3 separate regions of the Homo sapiens genome follow, and regions 2 and 3 are each linked to region 1. The links are contacts of gene promoters, found by promoter capture Hi-C in human tissues and cell types (Jung and others, 2019). All regions are on one chromosome and are shown on one strand. Each heading gives the region's core, a stretch centred on a gene start or on the middle of the fragment in contact. The rest is flanking DNA. Distances are from core to core; before and after follow the strand shown.

What was found. Contacts are between HindIII fragments. The study calls those that stand out against the background at their distance.
Region 2: a fragment that was not itself captured here is called in contact with the fragment with the promoter of GSDMB in region 1 in 3 of the 25 tissues and cell types used here (lymphoblastoid cells, ovary and spleen).
Region 3: a contact is called between a fragment that was not itself captured here and the fragment with the promoter of GSDMB in region 1, in 2 of the 25 tissues and cell types used here (lymphoblastoid cells and thymus).

The regions. Positions count from the first base shown.
Region 1 is chr17:39,917,138-39,919,970 of GRCh38, reverse strand. It overlaps GSDMB (gasdermin B), which reads left to right and starts at 1,336. Exons shown (of 11, transcript NM_001165958.2): 1 at 1,336-1,437; 2 at 2,641-2,833. The coding sequence starts at 2,655. RefSeq lists a cis regulatory region at 1,070-1,083 and promoters at 1,062-1,424, 2,148-2,556, 2,107-2,736. The HindIII fragment of the contact is 12,682 bases long and covers 1-2,833 here.
Region 2 is chr17:39,973,499-39,976,331 of GRCh38, reverse strand. It overlaps GSDMA (gasdermin A), which reads right to left. Exons shown (of 12, transcript NM_178171.5): 8 at 2,502-2,522; 9 at 1,905-2,059; 10 at 1,318-1,432; 11 at 335-408. Among named protein-coding and RNA genes, the nearest start is that of PSMD3, 5.9 kb to the left of the region's middle. The HindIII fragment of the contact is 7,168 bases long and covers 1-2,833 here.
Region 3 is chr17:39,881,847-39,884,679 of GRCh38, reverse strand. No RefSeq gene overlaps it. Among named protein-coding and RNA genes, the nearest start is that of ZPBP2, 15 kb to the right of the region's middle. The HindIII fragment of the contact is 8,844 bases long and covers 1-2,833 here.

The DNA of each region.
Region 1 (2,833 bases), core at 87-2,586:
CAATATATGGTAGCCATATTATTATAATTGTAATTGTTACTACCACCACTGTCGTCTATTTATTTATTTATTTATTTATTTTTTTGAGACTGAGTCTTGCTCTGTTGCCCAGGCTGGAGTGCAGTGGCACCATCTTGGCTCACTGCAACCTCCGCCTCCCAGGTTCAAGCAATTCTCATGCCTCAGCCTCCTGAGTAGCTGGGATTACAGGTGTGTGCCAAAACATCTGGCTAATTTTTTTTTTTTTTTTTTTTTTGGTAGAGACGGGGTTTCGCCATGTTGGCCAGGCTGGTCTTGAACTCCTGGCCTCAAGTGATCTGCCTGCTTCGGCCTCTGAAAGTGTTGGGATTACAGGCATGAACCACCACGCCTGGCCTGTCATCCCTTCAAATGTTCTTTCAGAACTGAGGCATGCAGAGGCTGGAAGACAGGCTGGGCTCACCGGGGTGGTTATCTCTGAGAGAGGACATGGGTGAGGTCAGAGGCCTCTCCCTGGAGAAGGAGGTAGGTGGAGAAGCCAGATGGCATCCAGATAAGGAAGACCAGCATCTCCTTGAGAGTGTACACGGGAGCACGAGATGGGGAGGGAGGCTGAGTGCTCCTTACAGGCCCACCCTGTTGCCTCCAGGTGTTAGCTGCTGTTGTCCTGGGTCTTCAGTGTTGACCGTCGCATGGCATTTGGGCAGCTGGTTCTGCTGGGTTATGGTCCTCATGTCCCTGGCACAGACACAGCCATTGCCTGCTGGCACTTGATACCTACTCATATTCCATTTCTCTATTCCAAACACACTGGATTGCATGGCCCAGGGCGCCACGGTGTGCACCATTGTCTGGCCCACACTCACCTAGAATACATACCAGGATCTCCTACCCACTCCTTAGGTACAAGAAGAAGAAGGGGTTCTGGCCGGGCATGGTGGCTCACACCTGTAATCCCAGCACTTTGAGAGGCCGAGGTGGGTGGGTCACAAGGTCAGGAGATTGAGACCATCCTGGCTAACACGGTGAAACCCCGTCTCTACTAAAAAACACACACAAAAAAATTAGCTGGGCGTGGTGGCAGGCACCTGTAGTCCCAGCTACTCGGGAGGCTGAGGCAGGAGAATGGCGTGAACTTGGGAGGCGGAGCTTGCAGTGAGCCGAGATTGCGCCATTGCACTCCAGCCTCGGCGATAGAGCAAGACTCCGTCTCAAAAAAAAAAAAAAAAGGGGGGTTCTGGCCTTAATCTGCCTCCAGCTCAGTTATAAGGTGGCTTATCTAAAGGCTTGGGAGGTGGGGCACCCAGCCCTACCCACCCGTCCAGGAAGTTCCACACCTGGACAACTTTCAGTTTCATTATTTTAGCTTCCTGAGATTCAGAGGCCAGGAACTGTGCAGAGATCTGTGGGGATTCTCACAACTTCCATTTCTGGTGAACAGCTGAGGTCAGAGAGGAGGTGGGTACCACTTGAGATGGGCCTGTGGTTCCCGGGTACTGTCTTTCCAGACACCTAGAATTCCCAGGTTGGTAGTGAACTGAGAGTCAACCACCATGATGGGGCCAGAGACAGAGGAGGAAGCAGTGAGTGGATAAGTGCCTGTGCTGGGCAGAAGGGATATAGGGGAAGGTGGCCAAAGGTAGGATGGGGAAGTGGATCCCAGGAAGCTTTTGTTTCTTCTGAGGCCAATTTACCACCACCTCATTGGGAAATTGTTGGTAGGGAGGCACCCATCCAATTGCCTTGCAGAATACAGCAAGGCAGGGAGCCCAAGAATCAGAGCCAAGGGAAGAAACGACCAGTTGAGGTTAGTAATGTGAAGTCTGGCAACCGTGCCCGTCATTCCTCCCTGGTTCCTCTGTTCATCAACGTTGGGGCTAGTCTGGCTGGGGCATGGTGGGCCTGCCTTTCCATCCCTTGGGCCCCTTGGAACAAGGGGGCAACTCTGCTGTGGGAGATGTAGAAAATGGGTCTCACTTTCTCTATTTGGGGCAATAGCTGCTACTTTTTTCCTCCAGATGGGTACCATGAGGGGCAGAGGAGAATCTGGGATCTGTGATGTTTAGCCCTCTTTACTGAGTCATGGCTGCCTCACGTTCTAGAAGTAAGGCAGGCAAATCATTCCAGGTACTGATTGTCCTGGAACCTTTGGCTCTTCCTTGACCTCATGTCACGTGCGTCCATGTGAAGAGAGTCCACGAAACGGGCTTTATATGAGCAACAAGGCTGGGTGCAGGCAAGCTGAGTCCAAAAAAGGGGTCAGCAAAGGGTGGTGGCATTATCATTAGTTCTTATATGTTTGGGATAGGCTTACAAAGTACATTCTCAAGGGTGGAGAAATATTACAAAGTACCTTCTTAAGGGCAGGGGAGAATATTACAAAGTACCTTCTTAAGGGCGGCGGCGGGGAGACTATATTGTATCAGGGTGGGGCAGGAACAAATCACAATGGTGGAATGTCATCAGTTAAGGCTATTTTCATTTCTTTTGTGGATCTTCAGTTGCTTCAGGCCATCTGGATGTATACATGCAGGTCACAGGGAATATGATGGCTTAGCTTGGGTTCAGAGGCCTGACACCTCAGGCTGCCAAATGTGGAAGATTTAAATACTTGAACCAATACCCTCCTCCCAAAAACTGAAATTGGCTTCTGTTTCTGAGTTGGTCCAGGCGCAATGTTCAGCGTATTTGAGGAAATCACAAGAATTGTAGTTAAGGAGATGGATGCTGGAGGGGATATGATTGCCGTTAGAAGCCTTGTTGATGCTGATAGATTCCGCTGCTTCCATCTGGTGGGGGAGAAGAGAACTTTCTTTGGATGCCGGCACTACACAACAGGCCTCACCCTGATGGA
Region 2 (2,833 bases), core at 228-2,727, 56 kb before region 1:
ACTCCAGCCTGGGCAAAAAGAGTGAAACTCTATCTCAAAAAAAAAAAAAAAAAAATTTGCTTACAATATTTGGCTAGGAATAAGCAAAGCCACAGTTTCTGTCTCTTCTCCCAAGATCAGGCTAATAAACCCAGATTATTGCCCAGAAATTCAGTCTTCTACCTCTTGTGAAATAACAAAAAATGAGAAATAGAGAGAGAAAGGAGGAGTGGGCATAAGCCCCTGGGATAAGACAGGGATCCTCCAGAATGGCTCCATCCTTAGGCGAAATCTGCATCTCCACTGGCTGCAGCTACTCCCAGACTCTCCCCAGCATCTGCTGTTTTTCCCTCACCAGCTTTAGCTGCACGGGTAGGATCTTTTTCTCCATGGATTTCACCAGCAGCTTCTGTTGGGCTTCACTTAGCTCTGGAGAAAAAAAGCAGAGAAAGATGTGTGTTGCTGGTGCAGAGGGGACTACAGCCTCCAAATAGCGCACTTCCAGAATTTCAGCCTTCATTCATTGGATGTAATTACAACGCAGGTGTTAAGGGAGCCATAGCTGAGGGGTCCACTTTGGTCTTGGAGTCGGAGGGCAGGCTTCCTAAGGGAACAAACGTTTTGGCTTACACCTGAAGGACCACAGAGTTTTTCTAAGTGGAAAACTAGAAAATGTGGAGGGAAGAAGAGCTCTTAGGGGCAAGATAAGAAAATGTTACTCCCTGAAGTTAAAGCTAACAGGTATCAGGATAGAAGTGATGAGCTTAGCTATATGCAGAAATTTTAAATATGTTGCTGATAAAACTAGGGTTATTCAACCTCTATTAGCAAGACTAGGCTGTCTTCTCAGACTACCCAATGTGACCAAGCAAATCCTTAGGAATGAAACCAATTTTTTTTTTTTTTGATGGAGTCTCGCTCTGTTGCCCAGGCTGGAGTGCAATGGAGTGATCTCGGCTCACTGCACCCTCCCCCTCCTGGGTTCAAGCGATTCTCCTGCCTTAGCCTTCAGAGTAGCTGGGATTACAGGCACCTGCCACCACGCCCGGCTAATTTTTCTATTTTTGGAAGAGGCGGGGTTTCACCATGTTGGCCAGGCTGATCTCGAACTCTTGATCACGGGTGATCCATCCACCTTGGCCTCCCAAAGTGCTGGGATTACAGGCATGAGCCACTGCAGCCAGCCATGAAACCAATTTATAAAAATGTAGATATAAACTACTTAACTGTGGTATAATTTGTCATTCATTCATTTATTCATCCATTTGGGAATTGATTCAAGTGATTCATTCCTATTACTGAAAAGGTCTATAAATGAAGACCTTATTCCCCACTTACCTGTTAGGGCTCCAACGAAATAGAGGATGGCGCCCACGGCCTCCTTTGATAGCAGGACATCTTTTGGGAGTGCCTCCAGGGTCACTTCATGTCCCTTGTCTAGAGCCCCTTCAAGCTGTGGGGGAAGGTGGGCGACTATTGAAGATAACATAGGAAAGGGCCCAACCCAGGGCCCAGCACATAATAACCCCTTGACATGCGGAAACTCTCTCCATTTCCTGATTTCTTTTTCGAGGCCTCATGTCCTGAAGAGTACTGGACTCCTGGGTTCCTTGTTTCCTGAGTTTTGGACTCTGGAAAGAGAAGGTTCCAGCCCCTCCAGCAGAAGTCCCTTCTGGCCATCAGAGGGAGCATGTGCCTTGGGGGAACCCACTGTTTGCCCTTTTCCAGGGGACAAAGGGAGGAGCAGTGGCCTGGCAGCCTTGGGGCACGTGGCCAGCCTTGGGGAAGGTATCTAAGGTGGACTCCCCTGGCCACCCACCTCCTGCCCCCGTCAGATCTCCCTACCTGCTGCAATACCCGCCCCCACCAAATCTTCACCAAAACATGCCTTCTCCCACCCTTCCCCACTTCCACTAGGTCCTCACTGCGAGCTCAAGGTCTTGTAGCTCCTTTTTCTTCCCTAGAAGTTTGCTGAGGGAGCTGAGCAGGGAGCTTTGCCCTACTCGGCTCAGCTTCTCCACTTGTTGGGTCTCTCTCTGAACTTCTTCTTTTAGTGTCCTGAAGCCTTCGTGTACGTCCCCTATGGGGACAATAATGGGACACACAGCCCTCCATCGGGCACCTTCCTCTCCAGTCAGCATTCCCCCTGCAGGGCTCCTACACTCAGCCCCCTTTAGGTACCCATGCTCTACCCCCCAGTTTGAGCCTGGCCCCATTTTTCTTTACCAAGGAATGCGGTGACAGAACTATCCACCAACCCTAACCTGAGGGTTGGGGCGAGAAGGTGGGCCAGGATGCATGTATCATCTAACCCAACAGTTAATCTTCCTGAGATCCCAGGCCTTATCCCATATCAGTACACACTTGACTTTTCTTTGAGACTCCAGCAAAAAGTGGAGAAAGAAAGTCTGTTTTCCCTTCCCATGAGTTAGCTGACAAAGAATGACTTCGCCTTCTCCTCTCTCTGCCCCTAATGCTACCTCCATGCCAAAGTCTTGGGAGAAACTCACAAAGTTCCTTACCAACATCAGATGCCTGGATAACTGAGAAAAAAAGGAAAAAAAAAAGATAAGAATGCAATCCTTCAGAATGGCAGCCATACCCAGGGGTTGAGACACTAAGGAAGATGAGGAAATACATCCTGCCTGTCTCCTGGGAGAGCCCAGCTACCTTGTTCCTGGCATTACTGTGACTCAGTGGCTCTGGCCCCAGTTGCTGGGCGGCCGAGTTGCAGATGTGTGTGTAGCAGGTTATAGCTACTAAGACTCTTAATTTTTTTTTTTTTTTTCTAGGCCAGGCTCAGTGGCTCACACCTGTGATCCCAGCACTTTGGGAGGCCAAGGTGGGAGGATCA
Region 3 (2,833 bases), core at 250-2,749, 35 kb after region 1:
CATGAAACCAAAACCACTTGTACCCCTAAACCTATTGCAATAAAATTAAAATAAAATGCCTAAAAGTAGCATCAACATGTCATTAGAAGTAATAAATAGCTCTATGCCAGAGTAAAATTGTCTATTTCAAGAGACAAAACTGTAAATATATAACACACTTAGAAAACCACGGCAGGATACATAAGCAGTACTGGTAAAATTTAGCCCCCAATATGCGGTGGAATTAGAACTGCTTTATTTTGGAAAGATACAGTTTGAGTATCCCTAATTTGAAAATCTAAGATTTGAAACTTTTCTAAGTGTCAACATGATGTTCAAAGGAAATACTCATTGGAGCACTTTTGATTTCGGATTAGGGATGCATTTTTGATTTTTGCATTAGGGATGCTCAACCAGTAGATATAATGCAAATATTCCAAAATCTGAAATCTGAAACACTGCTGGCCCCAAGGTTTTTTGTCTTTTTTTTTTAAAGAGGGTCTTGCTCTGTCACTGAGGATGAAGTGAAGTGGCATAATCATAGCTCAGCCTGTGAGTAGCTGAGACTACAGGTACATGCCACCATACCTAGCTATTTAATTTTTTTTTTTTTGTAGAGACGGGGTCTCACTATGTTGCTCAGGCAGGTCTCAAACTCCTGGCCTCAAGTGATCCTCCTGCTTCAGCCTCCTGAAGTGCTGGGACTACAGATGTTAGCCACCATGCTTGGCCCCAAGTATTTTGAATAAGGGATACTCAACCTGTATGGTGATTGGAAAAAGTAATGAGATATATTTATCAATGTTAATTAGCAATCTGTTATAGTTATGCAGGAAACAAAGCCAGCTCACAGTGAAAATAAAACATCACTATCTTGACAGAAAGTCCTCATTTCAGAATAGCTACCTATCAGCAACTGGTTATCATTAGGTTAAAGGAAGAAAAAAAAGTATACCATGCTAACACTGATCAAAGGAAAGCTCGAGTAGCTATATTAATTTTGGACAAAGTAGATTTCTGAACAAGGAAAATTATCAGGGATGAAGAATGGTATTACATAATGATAAAGGGGTCAATTCTCCAGGAAGACATAACAGTCGTTTATAGGTGCCTAACAACAGAGCATCAAAATAGGTGGGTTAAAAACTAACAGAACTGCAAAGAGAAATAGACAAACCCATTATTATCCTTGGAAACATCAACACTCTTCTATCAGTGACGGACAAATGCAGCAGGCAGAAAATCGGTAAAGATATAGTTGAATTATGGCATCATCAATCAACTGGATCTAATTGACATTTACAGAATCTCCATCCACCAATAGCAGAATACATATTCTCCTAAAGCTCACATGAAACATTCACCAAGATAAACAACATTCTGGACATTGTTAACAGAGTACCTGAGCAAAAAATTTTTAAGAGATGCTTATGTTGCCCAGGCTGGTCTCAAACTCCTGGCCTTAAGCGATCCTCCTACCTCAGCCTCCCGAGTACTGATCACATTTAAAACAATAAAAGCAAGCCGGGCCTGGTGGCTCATGCCTGTAATCCCAGCATTTTGGGAGGCCGAGGCGGGCGGATTGCAAGGTCAGGAGTTCAAGACCAGCCTGGCCAGTATGGTGAAACCCTGTCTCTACTAAAAATACATAAAAATATTAGCCAGGCATGATGGCGGGCGCCTGTAGTCCTAGCTACTTGGGAGGCTGAGGCAGGAGACTCGCTTGAACCCGGGAGGCAGAGGTTGCAGTGAGCTGAGATTGCACCACTGCACTCCCTGTGGGCGACAGAGTGAGACTCCGTCTCAAAAAAAAAAAAAAAAAAAAATCCATACACAGTAAGCCTGAAGACCACAATGGAATTAGACTAAAAATCAATAATGGAAAGATAGCTGGAAAATTAAAAGATATTTGGAGATTAAACAATAGGCATCTAAATAACACATGGGTCAAAGAAATCTCAAAAGAAATTTTAAAATATTTTAAACTAAACAAAAATGAAAATACAACTTATAAAAACTTGTAGGATTCAGCAAATGTTTAGAGGGAAATTGATAGCATTGAATGCACATATCAGAAAATAGGAAAAATATAAAATCAATAATCTAAGCATGTGCCTTAGATTAGAGGTACAAGTTTCTGGAAACTACAGGAAGAAGAGCAACATAAACCTAAAGCAGGCAGAAAAAAAGAACTAATAAGAATTAGAGCAACAATCAATTAAATTGAAAGCAGGGAATCAACAGAGAAAATCAAGGAAACCAAAAGCTGGTTCTTAGAAAACATCAGTAAAATTGATAAAACTCTGGCCAGGCTAACCAAGAAAAAAAAGGGGAAGACACAAATTACTAATATCAGAAATAAAAGAGGGATTATCACTACTAAACATTAATGTCATTAATGACATTAAAAAGATAATAAAGGAATATTATAAATAATTCTATAATTTGATAATTGAGATGAAATGAACAAATTACTTAAAGGACAAAACCTACCAAAATGTATACAAGAAGAAACAGATACTCTGAATAGGTCTAGATCTATTAAAGAAATTGAATTTTTTTTTTAATTTTTTATTTTTATTTATTTTTTTTGAGACAGAGTCTTGCTCTGTTGCCCAGGCTGGAGTGCAGTGGCGTGATCTCGGCTCACTGCAACCTCTGCCTCCTGGGTTCAAGCAATTCTCGTGCCTCAGCCTCCTGAGTGGCTGGGATTACAGGTGCCCTCCACCACGCATGGCTAATTTTTGTATTTTTAGTAGAGACGGGGTTTCACCGTGTTGGCCAGGCTGGTCTCCAACAACTGAGCTCAAGTGATCTGCCAGCCTCGGCCTCCCAAAGTACTGGGATTACAGGT